Linked DNA regions of Homo sapiens: region 1 is linked to region 2. The links are contacts of gene promoters, found by promoter capture Hi-C in blood cells and fetal thymus (Javierre and others, 2016). All regions are on one chromosome and are shown on one strand. Each heading gives the region's core, a stretch centred on a gene start or on the middle of the fragment in contact. The rest is flanking DNA. Distances are from core to core; before and after follow the strand shown.

The links. Contacts are between HindIII fragments. The CHiCAGO score rates a contact against its expected background, and 5 or more counts as called.
Region 1: a fragment that was not itself captured here is called in contact with the fragment with the promoter of LINC01063 in region 2 in 1 of 17 cell types (M2 macrophages); the score reaches 5.2 in M2 macrophages.

Annotation. Positions count from the first base shown.
Region 1 is chr3:196,525,837-196,531,365 of GRCh38, forward strand. It overlaps the pseudogene NAA50P2. Among named protein-coding and RNA genes, the nearest start is that of SMCO1, 13 kb to the left of the region's middle. RefSeq lists an enhancer at 2,082-2,151 and a silencer at 2,922-3,221. The HindIII fragment of the contact is 2,813 bases long and covers 1,909-4,721 here.
Region 2 is chr3:196,628,512-196,634,237 of GRCh38, forward strand. LINC01063 (long intergenic non-protein coding RNA 1063) reads right to left here and starts at 4,076. Exons shown (of 2, transcript NR_132101.1): 1 at 3,877-4,076; 2 at 2,993-3,134. RefSeq lists an enhancer at 3,744-4,498 and a silencer at 3,888-3,967. The HindIII fragment of the contact is 3,065 bases long and covers 3,722-5,726 here.

The DNA.
Region 1 (5,529 bases), core at 2,065-4,564, 100 kb before region 2:
TAATTTTTTTTTGTTTTAATTTTTATGTACAGACAGGCATCTTACTATGTTGTCCTGGCTGGTCTCCAATTCCTGGGCTCAAGTGATTCACCCGCCTTGGCCTCCCAAAGTGTTGGGATTACAGACATGAGCCACCACACCTGGGTTATTGTTGGATTTACTGAAGAAAAGGGGCAGGAGAAAAAAGTTAAATTACGACAAATCTCTAGGTCAATTAGAAGCCATATCTCTGGGATATTTTAAAAAATCAGTCTTACCGCTTCCGACTCTAAAAGTTAATGCCATTAGTAACAACAGCAGGAAAAATAAACCTGATAAAAACCAGCCCATTCATTTTAGCAAAAAAGCAGTTTAACTCAAAATACTTAGACCAAAGTATAACACTACGTACCCAAGGTGCCCCACCCACCAGCAAGAAGAGAAGAAATAATTGCTTTAAAAATCAAAATATGCGGCCAGGCGCCGTGGCTCACCCCTGTAGTCTCAGCACTTTGGGAGGCCAAGGCAGGCAGATTACCTGAGGTCGGGAGTTCAAGACTAGCCTGGCCAACATGGTGAAACCCTCTTTCTACTAAAAACACAAAAATTAGCCGGGCGTGGTGGCGCGTGCCTGTAGTCCCAGCTACCTCGGGAGGCTAAGGCAGGAGAATCGCCTAAACTCAGGAGACGGAGCTTGCAATGAGCCGAGATCCGCCACTGCACTCCAGCCTGGGCGACAGAGCAAGACTCTGTCTCCAAAATAATAATAATAATAATAAATATGCTCAGCATTTCTTCCAGAGATAGCAACGGTGCTACTCCTGAGAGTGCTCGGAAGGACTAAAGCTGGAGTGAAGATAATGTCTAGGGATTGGTATCCCACAAAGGCTTTCAAAGCCCAAGGTACCACAAGCACACTAAACTCGTCTATGAATTAGAAAACAAGATATCACTGCTGCTTCTTTCTGTCTTTTGAAATGTACAATATTTTGTAGGCTCTGCCCTTCGATGTGAAAGCAGGACTAAGAAAAAACAACTAAGAGGGCCAGGCTCGGTGGCTCACGCCTGTAATCCCAGCACTTTGGGAGGCCGAGGCAGGCGGATCATGAAGTCAAGAAATCAAGACCATCTGGCCAACATGGTGAAACCCTGTCTCTACTAAGAAAATACCAAAATTAGCCGGACGTGGTGGCAGGCGCCTGTAGTCCCAGCTACTCAGGAGGCTGAAGCAGGAGAATCATTTGAACCCAGAAGGCGGAGGTTGCAGTGAGCTGAGATCTCGCCATTGCATTCCAGCCTGGGCAACAGTGTGAGACTCCGTCTCCAAAAAAAAAAAATAGAGACAGAGTCTTGCTATGTTGCCCAGGCTGGTCTCCAACTCCAAGCTAAGAAATGTGAAATTATTTGACACCTAAATTTTTAGAACCATTTATCTTAACTGTGAAATTAAACAGATCTACCTTCTCCTGCCTTCAGTCAAACCACCTCACAAAAATAAGAGAACTGAAACAATCCAAACATGATCTTTTTTTTTTTTTTTTTTTTTTTTTTTTTTTTGAGATGGAGTCTTGCTCTGTGGCCCAGGCTGGAGTGCAGTGGCACGATCTCGGCTCACTGCAACCTCTGCCTCCCAGGTTCAAGCGATTCCCCTGTCTCAGGCTCCTGAGTAGCTTGGGACTACAGGCACACGCCACCACGCCTGGCTAATTTTTGTATTTTTAGTACAGATGGGGTTTCACCATGTTGGCCAGGCTCGTCTGGAACTCCTGACCTCAAGTGATCCACCCACCTTGGCCTCCCAAAGTGCTGGGATTACAGGAGTGAGTCACTGCGCCTGGCCCAAACATGATCATTTTTAAAGTCCTTGAAAGTATTAAAACTTTGAAAAGAAAAGAAAGAAGGAAAAACAAAAACATGGCAGTGCAGGAAAGCTTTACAAGAAAGAGGGGGTGAAAATCAATGGGCTTGTCTTTTTTTGTCAACAAGCAAGTGCAAGAAGGTTCATTTTGTGACTTGTTCAGTTGTGTTTTGCATATCTCCATTCTGATCGGAAGGGACTTTGAGGTTTTTCTGCAACTCCTGAGCATCTGCAGGCTCCATCCTCTTATCCTTTATCTGTCTTTGTCTCAGTCATCTCAAAGCCAAACTTCTGTAGAAGTCAATTGCTGACTCATTGCTGATCTGGACAAACAGATGTTGTCAAAAGTGCCATCTTGGCTGGGCAGTGGCTTATGCCTGTAATCCCAGCACTTTGGGAGGCTGAAGTAGGCAGATCCCTAGAGTACAGGAGTTCGAAACTAGCCTGGCCAATATGGTGAAACCCCGTCTCTACTAAAAACACAAAAATTAGCCAGGCGCGGTGGCTCCCATCTGTAACCCCAGCACTTTGGGAGGCCAAGGCGGGCGGATGTCCTGAGGTCGGGAGTTCAAGACCTGCCAGGCCAGCATGGTGAAACCCCGTCTCTACTAAAAATACAAAAATTAGCCGGGCGTGGTAGCACATGCCTCTAATCTCAGCTACTCGGGAGGCTGAGGCAGGAGAATCACTTGAACCCGGGAGGTGGACGTTGCAGTGAGCCGAGATCGCGCCACTGTACTCCAGCCTGGGTGACAGAGCGAGACTCCATCTCAAAAAAAAAAAAAAAAAAAAAAAAAAAAAAAAAAAAAAAAAGAAAGAGAGAGAGAGAGAGAAAGAAGGAGAAGAAAAAGGTGCCATCTTCTCCACAGATGTTTGACACGATTTAACATCTGAGTTGCTATTCCTGGCCTTGGGTAAGGTGCCGGACACCCTGGTGTGATGATGTGTCTGCGAATGATCCACCGTCCCGCCCTCGCCCCAGCTTTGCTAGCTCAGCCTCCAGCACGCCCTTGTAGGACGTGTCCCTGCAGCCGACTGAAAAGGTGGCCTGGATGGGTGTCTTCAAGTACGGAGAACTGCGGTGTCGCGCCTCCGGGCCCCATCCGGCTCCCAGCATCTTCTCCCGCTGCGGAGGCCGCATTTCCACTCAGGGCAGCGCCGCCGCGGTGGTTCCGCCCTGTCGGGCTCAGACCGGCCTGGGCGCCTCCGCGGGGAGCTGGGCGGTGGCGGGGGCCGCGGGAGTGGAGCCGGCCCGAGCCTCCAGGGGGCGCTGGCGGCCGCTTCCTCCATCCGCAGGCGGCTCCCGGCCACGCCCGTCGCTGAGCGTGAGGCGATGGCGGCCGAGCTCAGAACACTGGTCCCCGGAATGGAGAGCTGAGGGGACAGATCTAAGGGACATTTATAACTCCGCAGGGACTCCGGGGTGGGAGTCAGTCCGTCTCAGGTGCGTCTCCGGAAGAACTTCGGCGTCCTCAGGGAATCAGTCCCTGCCCCAGTGAGAAAAACCTTGCTGGGTCCTCCCTGATCCCCGCCACTACTTTTTTCTCCTTAGCAAAATCCAGATATTGTTTGAGTATTGGGCAGCCACGTGCTTCAGGGGAAGCTGAGCCCCTTCCCAGTGTGAGAGTTGGGGGTGAGTCTTAGAATAAATCAATCACAGCAATTTTATTATTATTGCCGTTATCATTGGTTTAGGAACGGACAGGTGGCAGAATTCTGGCCCATGAAATATAAGAAGAGGCCCACTGTGGAGCTTCTGAGGCCGGGCACGGTGGCTCACGCCTGTAATCCCAGCACTTTGGGAGGCTGAGGCTGGCGGATCACGAGGTCAGGAGTTCGAAACCAGCCTGGCCAACATGGTGAAACCCCCATCTCTACTAAAGATACAACAAATTAGCCGGGCGTGGTGGCGCGCACCTGTAATCCCAGCTACTCGGGAGGCTGAGGCAGGAGAATCGCTTGAACCCAGAAGGCAGAGGTTGTAGTGAGCCAAGATCGTGCCATTGCACTCCAGCCTGGGTGACAGGGCGAGACTCTGTCTCCATAAATTAATTAATTAATTAATTAATTAAGACATAGTCTTGCTACGTTGCCCAGGCTGGTCTCCAACTCCTGGGCTCAAGTGGTCCTCCCGCCTTGGCCTCCCAAAGTGCTGGGATTACAGGTGTGAGCCAGAAAAGTTTGTTTAAATTGTGCAAAAATATACATAACAAAATTTACCATTTTTATATTTTACTTACTTTTTATTTATTTCAATAGGTTTTTGGGGAACAGGTGGTGTTTGGTTTCATAAGTTCTTCAGTGGTGATTTCTGAGATTTGGTGCAGCCATCACTCGAGCAGTGTACACGGTACCCAACGTGTGGTCTTTTATCCCTCGCCCCCTTCCCACCCTTTCCCCTGAATACCCAAAGTGCATTGTATCTTTTTTTTTTTTTTTTTTTTTGTGAGATGTAGTCTCTCTGTGTCGCCCAGGCTGGAGTGCAATGGCACGATCTCGGCTCACTGCAACCTCTGCCTCCCGGGTTCAAGTGATTCTCCTGCCTTAGCCTCCTGAATAGCTGGGACTACAGGCACATGCCACCAAGCCCAGCTAATTTTTGTATTTCTAGTAGAGACGGGGTTTCACCATGTTGGGCAGGATGGTCTCGATCTCTTGACCTCATGATTCGCCTGCCTCGGCCTCCCAAAGTGCTGGGATTACAGGCTTGAGCCACCGCACCCGGTCCACTCCGTGGCTTTCTTTTCATCATCTTGATGGTGTGTTTTCATGAACTAATGTTCTTAATTTTCAAGTAGTCCAATTTATCATGTTTTCATTTTGATGTCTTATATATGAAATTTTTCCTACCCCAAGGTCATGAAAATATTTTTTTCCTTTTAGAAGCTTCACCACTTTACCTATTACATTTATATCTGTAATATGCCTAAAATTTAGACCTTTGGATTAATGTGAAGAAGGTCAAGATTCTTTTCTTCTCCATATGGATATACAACTGACTCAATCCCATTTATTATAAAGAGTTTCCTCACTGCTCTGCAGTGGACTTTTGTCATTAATCAAGTTTGCATACATGCAAGCATCTATTTCTATCCTCTATTCTGTTCCATTGGTCTGCTTATTTATTCTTGTGCCCAAATCACACTCAACCTTAATTATTTTGGCTTCATTAAAAAGTCTTAATAACATACAGTGTGAGTCCTCCAGCTATGCTCTTCAAGATTATCTGGGGTATTCTGGGCCATTTGCATTTTCATATAAAATTTTCAATAAGCTTGCTAATTTTTAGAACGCTATGAGCTGGGATATTGAGTAGAATTACATTGACATCTTCATAATATTTAGCCTTCTAATTCATGAATATGATACGTATCTTTATTTAGATTCTCTTTAATTTTCCTCGGTCGTGTTTTGTAGTTTCCTTTGTAGAGTTTTTGCATGTTTTCCATTAGATTTATTACTAGGTATTTGATGTTTCTTGATGCTGTTGTAAGTAGTGTTTAATGTTTTTCTTATTGCTGTTATAAATACGACCAATTTTTCTATATTTACCTTTTTATTCAGCAACCTTACTAAACCCATTTTTCACTTAGTCGTTCATCTGTAGATGCCCGCCCGCCCGCCTGCCTGCCTGCCCGCCCACCCGCCCGCCTGCCCGCCCGCCTGCCCGCCTGCCCGCCTGCCCGCCTTTC
Region 2 (5,726 bases), core at 2,826-5,325:
GAATATATTTTATATATTAATGATCTCCCTAGTAATCATCTCCAACATAAGATTAAGGATAATTGTGGCAATTTTAAAATTTTGTTTTGTTTTTGAGACAGGGTCTCGCTTTGTCACCCAGGCTTGAGTGCAGTGGCGCAATCTTGGCTCACTGCAGCCTCGACTTTCTGGGTGCAAATGATCCTTTCGCCTTAGCCTCCCGAGTAGCTGGGACAACAGGCGCGTGCCACCATGCCTGGCTAATTCTTTTGCATTTTGTATTTTTGTAGATATGGGGTTTCACCATGTTGCCTAGGCTGGTTTCAATCTCTTGAGCTCAAGGGATCCACCTACCTCAGCCTCCCAAAGTACTGGGATTACAGGCATGGGCCACCGTGCCTGGCCCAGATGATTCTATATTTTATTTTATTTTTTATTTTATTTTATTATTGTATTTTTTTGAGACAGAGTCTCGCTCTGTTGCCAGGCTGGAGTGCAGTGGTGCGATCTCAGCTCACTGCAACCTACGCCTCCTGGGTTCACATCATTCTCCTGCTTCAGCCTCCTGAGTAGCTGGGACTACAGGTGCCCACGACCACGCCTGGCTAAACTTTTTTTGTATTTTTAGTAGAGACGGGGTTTCACCATGTTGGCCAGAATGGTTTTGATCTCTTGACCTTGTGATTCACCCGCCTCGGCCTCCCAAAGTGCTGGGATTACAGGTGTGAGCCACCATGCCTGGCCGATAATTGTATTTTAAATAAGAAACCTAAAGCTTCAAAATCCTCAAAATATAATACTTAAAAACATTTATACAGATATTAAAGGAATAGTTCAATAGCAGTGAAATATTTTTAATTTGAGAAGCCAAATACATATTCATGAATCACTCTAGAGATACAAAGAGAAACTGCACAATTTCAAAACAGTATGGTCAAAATATGATGTCATTCTGTTTAACTAGCTTTAAGATGTTGCTAGGTGCTCCAATGTTCTAATTTAGACTATAATAGGAAAACACATGTTTTACATAAATGTATTTTCCAAATAACTAGAGAGTATCAGTTTAAGCACTAATCTTTTTTATTCTGATTTTCAAAAAATGTTAAACAAATCCCACTTCACGGGGATTACAGATGTGAGCCGCCACACTTCCCTTTCTTGTATACTGAGTCTATGTTAACCTATTCTTTTTTTCTGGCGTGATCTCGGCTCATTTGCAACCTCCACCTCCCAGGTTCAAGTGATTCTCCTGTCTCAGCCTCCTGAGTAGCTGGGATTACAAGCATGCACCACCACACCCAACTAATTTTGTATTTTTAGTAGAAACAGGGTTTCACCATGTTGGTCAGGCTGGTCTCGAACTCCTGACCTCAGGTGATCTGCCTGCCTCGGCCTCCCAAAGTGCTGGGATTACAGGCGTGAGCCACAGTGCCCAGTGGTTTATTTTTATAGAACAGCTTTATTGAGCTATAACTCATCTACCATATAATTTACGCATTTAATGTGTACAAGGCAATTGCTTTTAGCATGTTCACATACTCATGAAACCATCACCACAATTTTAGAACATTTTCATAACCTCAAAAGGAAACCCCATACCCATTACCAGTCACTCCCATTTTCCCCCAAACCCCCAGACCTAGGTAACCACTAATCTTTCTCTCTCTACAGATTTGCCTTCTCTGAACAATTCATGTAAATGAAATCATGTAACATGTGATCATTTGTGACTGACTTTTTTCACTTAGCATAATGTTTTCAAAGTTTGTCCCTGTTGTAGCATGTATCAGTACTTTATTCTCTTCTATGGCTGAGAAATGTTCCACTGCATAGCTGGGCGCAGTGGCTCAAGCCAGTATTCCCAGCACTTTGGGAGGCTGAGGCGGGTGGATCGCTTGAGCTCAGAAGTTCAAGACCAGCCTGGGCAGAAACCCCATCTCTACCAAAAATACAAAAAATTAGTCGGGTGTGGTGGCAGGCACCTGTGGTCCCAGCTACTGGGGAGGCTGAGGTGGGAGGATCGCTTGAGCCCAGGAGGAGGTTGCAGTGAGCTGAGATAGCATCACTGAACTCCAGCCTGGGTGACAGAAAGAGATCCCATCAAAAAAAAAAAAAAGAAGAAAGAAGAAAGAAAGAAAGAAGGAAAGAAAAAGAAAGAAAGAAAGAGAAAGAAAAGAAAGAAAGAAAGAGAAAAAGAAATTCCACTGCATGGATATACTGTATCCACTCGTCAGTTAGTTGATGGACATTTGGGTTTTTTCCACTTCTTGGTAATCATGAATGATGCTGTTCTGAACATTCATGTTCGGGTGTTAGTATAGCATGGCTTCAGGTGTTAGTATAGCATGTCTTCAGGTGTTTGTATAGCATGTCTTCATTTCTTTTAGGTCCCTAGGAATGGAATTTGTGAGCCACCTGATAACTCCATGCTTTTACCTTTTGAGGAGCTGCCAGACTCCTTTCCAAAGTTTCTGCACCATCTTACATTCCCACCAGCAGTGTATGAGGGTCGCAGTTTCTCCACATACTTGTTTTATTTGACCTTTTGATGCTAGGCATCCTAGTGCATATAAAGTGATATGTCATTGTAGTTTTTGTTTTTGGGGTTTTTTTAGACAGGGTTTCACTCCCGTCACCCAGGCTGGAGTGCAATGGCACAATCTCGGCTCACTGCAACCTCTGCCTCCTGGGTTCAAGTGAGTCTCCTGCCTCAGCCTCCTGAGTAGCTGGGATTACAGGCACAGGCCACTGTGCCCGGCTAATTTTTGTATTTTTTTGTAGAGACGGGGTTTCACCATGTTGGTCAGGCTGGGTTTGAACTCCTGGGCTCAAGCGATCCACCTGCCTCAGCCTCCCAAAGCGCTGGGATTACAGGTGTGAGCCACAGCGCCTGGCCTCTCATTGCAGTTTTGATTTGCATTTCCCTGATGACAAATGATATCAAGCATCTTTTCACATGATTACTGGCCATTTGTATACCTTCTGTGGAAATGTGGTAACACCCTTTGCTGATTTTAAAATAGGGTTATTTGTTTATTATTGAGTTGAAATAATTCCTTCTTTTGAGTGTCAGTGACTGAGGTTCGCTGTGACACAGAGGGGTTCTCCTGGAGAGCTATGGCACATGCTCCATATTAAAAGGCAACATGATGCTGTCAGGAAGAACACAAAAGCAATTATAAAAACGTGTTAGTACATATTTATGCATCTTTTTTCTTACTCTCTCTTTGCTATCTATTCTCACAGCTCTAAATATGAATTATTTCTCTAGGTAGAGGCCAAGCATGAGTCAGCTTCTCCCAAGAATCAGTTGCCTGGGCTTCGAGACAGTTTTCTGCCGTATTTTGGGTAATTGTAGTTGCCAGGAGTCTGACTTCTGAGGGTGTCAGGTGCCATTTGCCGTTAAGTGGAGATAGTAGGTTGAACAGGGTGGGACTAATTGGGGCCAGTTTTGAGGAGGTGAATCTTTAGTGAAATCGCCAAGAACACAGTGGTGAGGACCTGGCAGAGAGGAGGAGATTCCAAGGCTGGGGGAATTGGGTAGTGGCGTCTGGGCACTGGGTCCTGTAGAAGGGAATTGGCGAGATGAATGAGCAGGGCTTCACAGGTGTGACTGATCTTGGTAAAGACGGTGAGAAGCCGTGACCAGGCAGGGTGTGCATGGGAGCAGTGAAAGGTCTAAAATTCAGCCTTTGAGCTCAGTGCTAGGTTCATGCTAGTAATTGGTTCCGATAGGTTAAGCTTCCTCTGGTTTGCCGGTGTGAGAAGAAAGAAAAACCTACTCCTCCCTGTTTCCGCCTCACCAGCTTCCCTTCTCTGCCAGCCCCACCCTGCCCCCGGCCCGTGTGGCTAAACTGCCCAACTGCCGATTAAAACCCGCACCTCCCAACATACCTCGCACCACCCAGAGGCCCCGGTCCCCGCCATTCATTCCGCTCCCGGCCGGGAGTCGCTCTAGCCAATCACCTTCCAGGCTCAGGGCGGCCGAGGCAGGGCCTCTGCCTCTTCGGGGGGCCTCTCCCTCCCCCTGCCCCTGATTGTGGCTGAACTGCCACCGCTTGATAGCAAACCACACTCGGCACAGGAAGGAGAACAGCGCCCGCGGCCCCGGGCCTCCATGAAATCAGCAAGGGCGCGCTCCTCCCACCGCCGCGCTGCTGAGCCTCCCGCCTTTCCTTCCGGTCGCTCGCGCCTCGAGAGGCGCCGCAGGGAGCCCTCTGCCGGTCCCGCCCTTCGCTGTTAGCGCTTAGGATCTGGTGCCTTTTCACGTGGGGGCGGGTGGGCGGGAGGCGAGTCTGGGGTCTTCGGGCCGGGCCTCCGCTCTCTGGCAGTTTGCACCTTGCTCCACTCACTGGCCTGCGGTCTGTGTTCACTCCTCCTCCTCTCCCACGTCTCAGGAACCTGCAGCTGGCCCCCGAGCCCGCGCCCTCCCGGTTCTAGGAATTCACCACTTTCTTGCCTTTGTTTGGGTATCTTTTGTTTGGAGCCAGAGCCGGCTCCAAGGAGGAGCTGCCGGAGGGTGCTAGGCTTTTTGCAGAGGAAGTGAGGAGCAGAGTGATAGGGCGTGAAGTCAGAGGGAGCAGAGAAGGGGCCGAATCCAGCGGGGCCCGGATCATGCAGGGCCCGGAGCCTGTGGTGAGGACTCCGGGATTTATATTCACCAATTATGAGAAAGGACTTCTCGGCCGGGCGCGGTGGCTCACACCTGTAATCCCAGCACTTTGGGAGGCTGAGGCCGGCGGATCGCCTAAGGTCAGGAGTTCGGGACCACCCTGGACAACATGGTGAAACTTTGTCTCTACTAAAAATACAAAAATTAGCCAGGCGTGGTGGTACATGCCTGCAATCCCAGATACTTGGGAGGCTGAGGCAGGAGAATCGCTTGAACCCAGGAGGCGGAGGTTGCCGTGAGCCGAGATCGTGCCACTGTACTCCAGCCTGGGCAACAAGAGCGAAACTCCGTCAAAAAAAAAAAGAAGAAGAAGAAGAAGAAGAAAAGAAAAAAGCAAAGAAAGAAAAGAAAGAGGACTTATCAATGACCACAAATGACTAAGTCCTCAACCTCTCCAACAGCTCTAGAGCAAATGACACTTTAGCCTGTGCTGAGCCCCTACAAGGTGCTAGACCAAGTATTCTTGGGGATATATACAAATGTGAACAAGCCAGAGACCCTGCCTGGCAGGACTCACTGTCCAGGGGGAAGGCAAAACTGCAAAGATGAGCTGGGACGCCCCATGGGAAACGCTGGACAGAGTCAGCCACAAAGCCATCCCCTTGCAGCCTCCTCCTTGGCATGGCCTTATTTTCCTTGTTGGATCCCTAGTGTCCTACCCCATGCCAGGTCCCACCCCAGGAGGGTCCAGTTCACACTTCCAGAAAGTTTGGGCTGCACTGTCCCAGCGGCTGTGCCCTTCGTGCTCTCCCGCTCCCAGGACTCTCCCAGCACCGCGTGCCCATTTTCCCCAAGGTCCTTTCGGCCCTGGACCAGACCATGGTTAGTTATGGGTGCCCCTTCCCCTCGCTGTCCCACTCCACGCCCTGGCACTGATAGGACACTTCCATGTTATCTTTGCACCACCTGGACTCTTTGATCATATGTTGATACTGTCGGTGTTTCAGGACAGGAAGAGGCAGTGTCCCCACAGAGGTCAGTCACCGGAGTCAGTGGCTGCGGGAGGCCATGGGCAGCAGGGAGCTAGAGGAGCTGATCTCAGGATTGGAGACCGCCACCTCCTCCAGGAGGA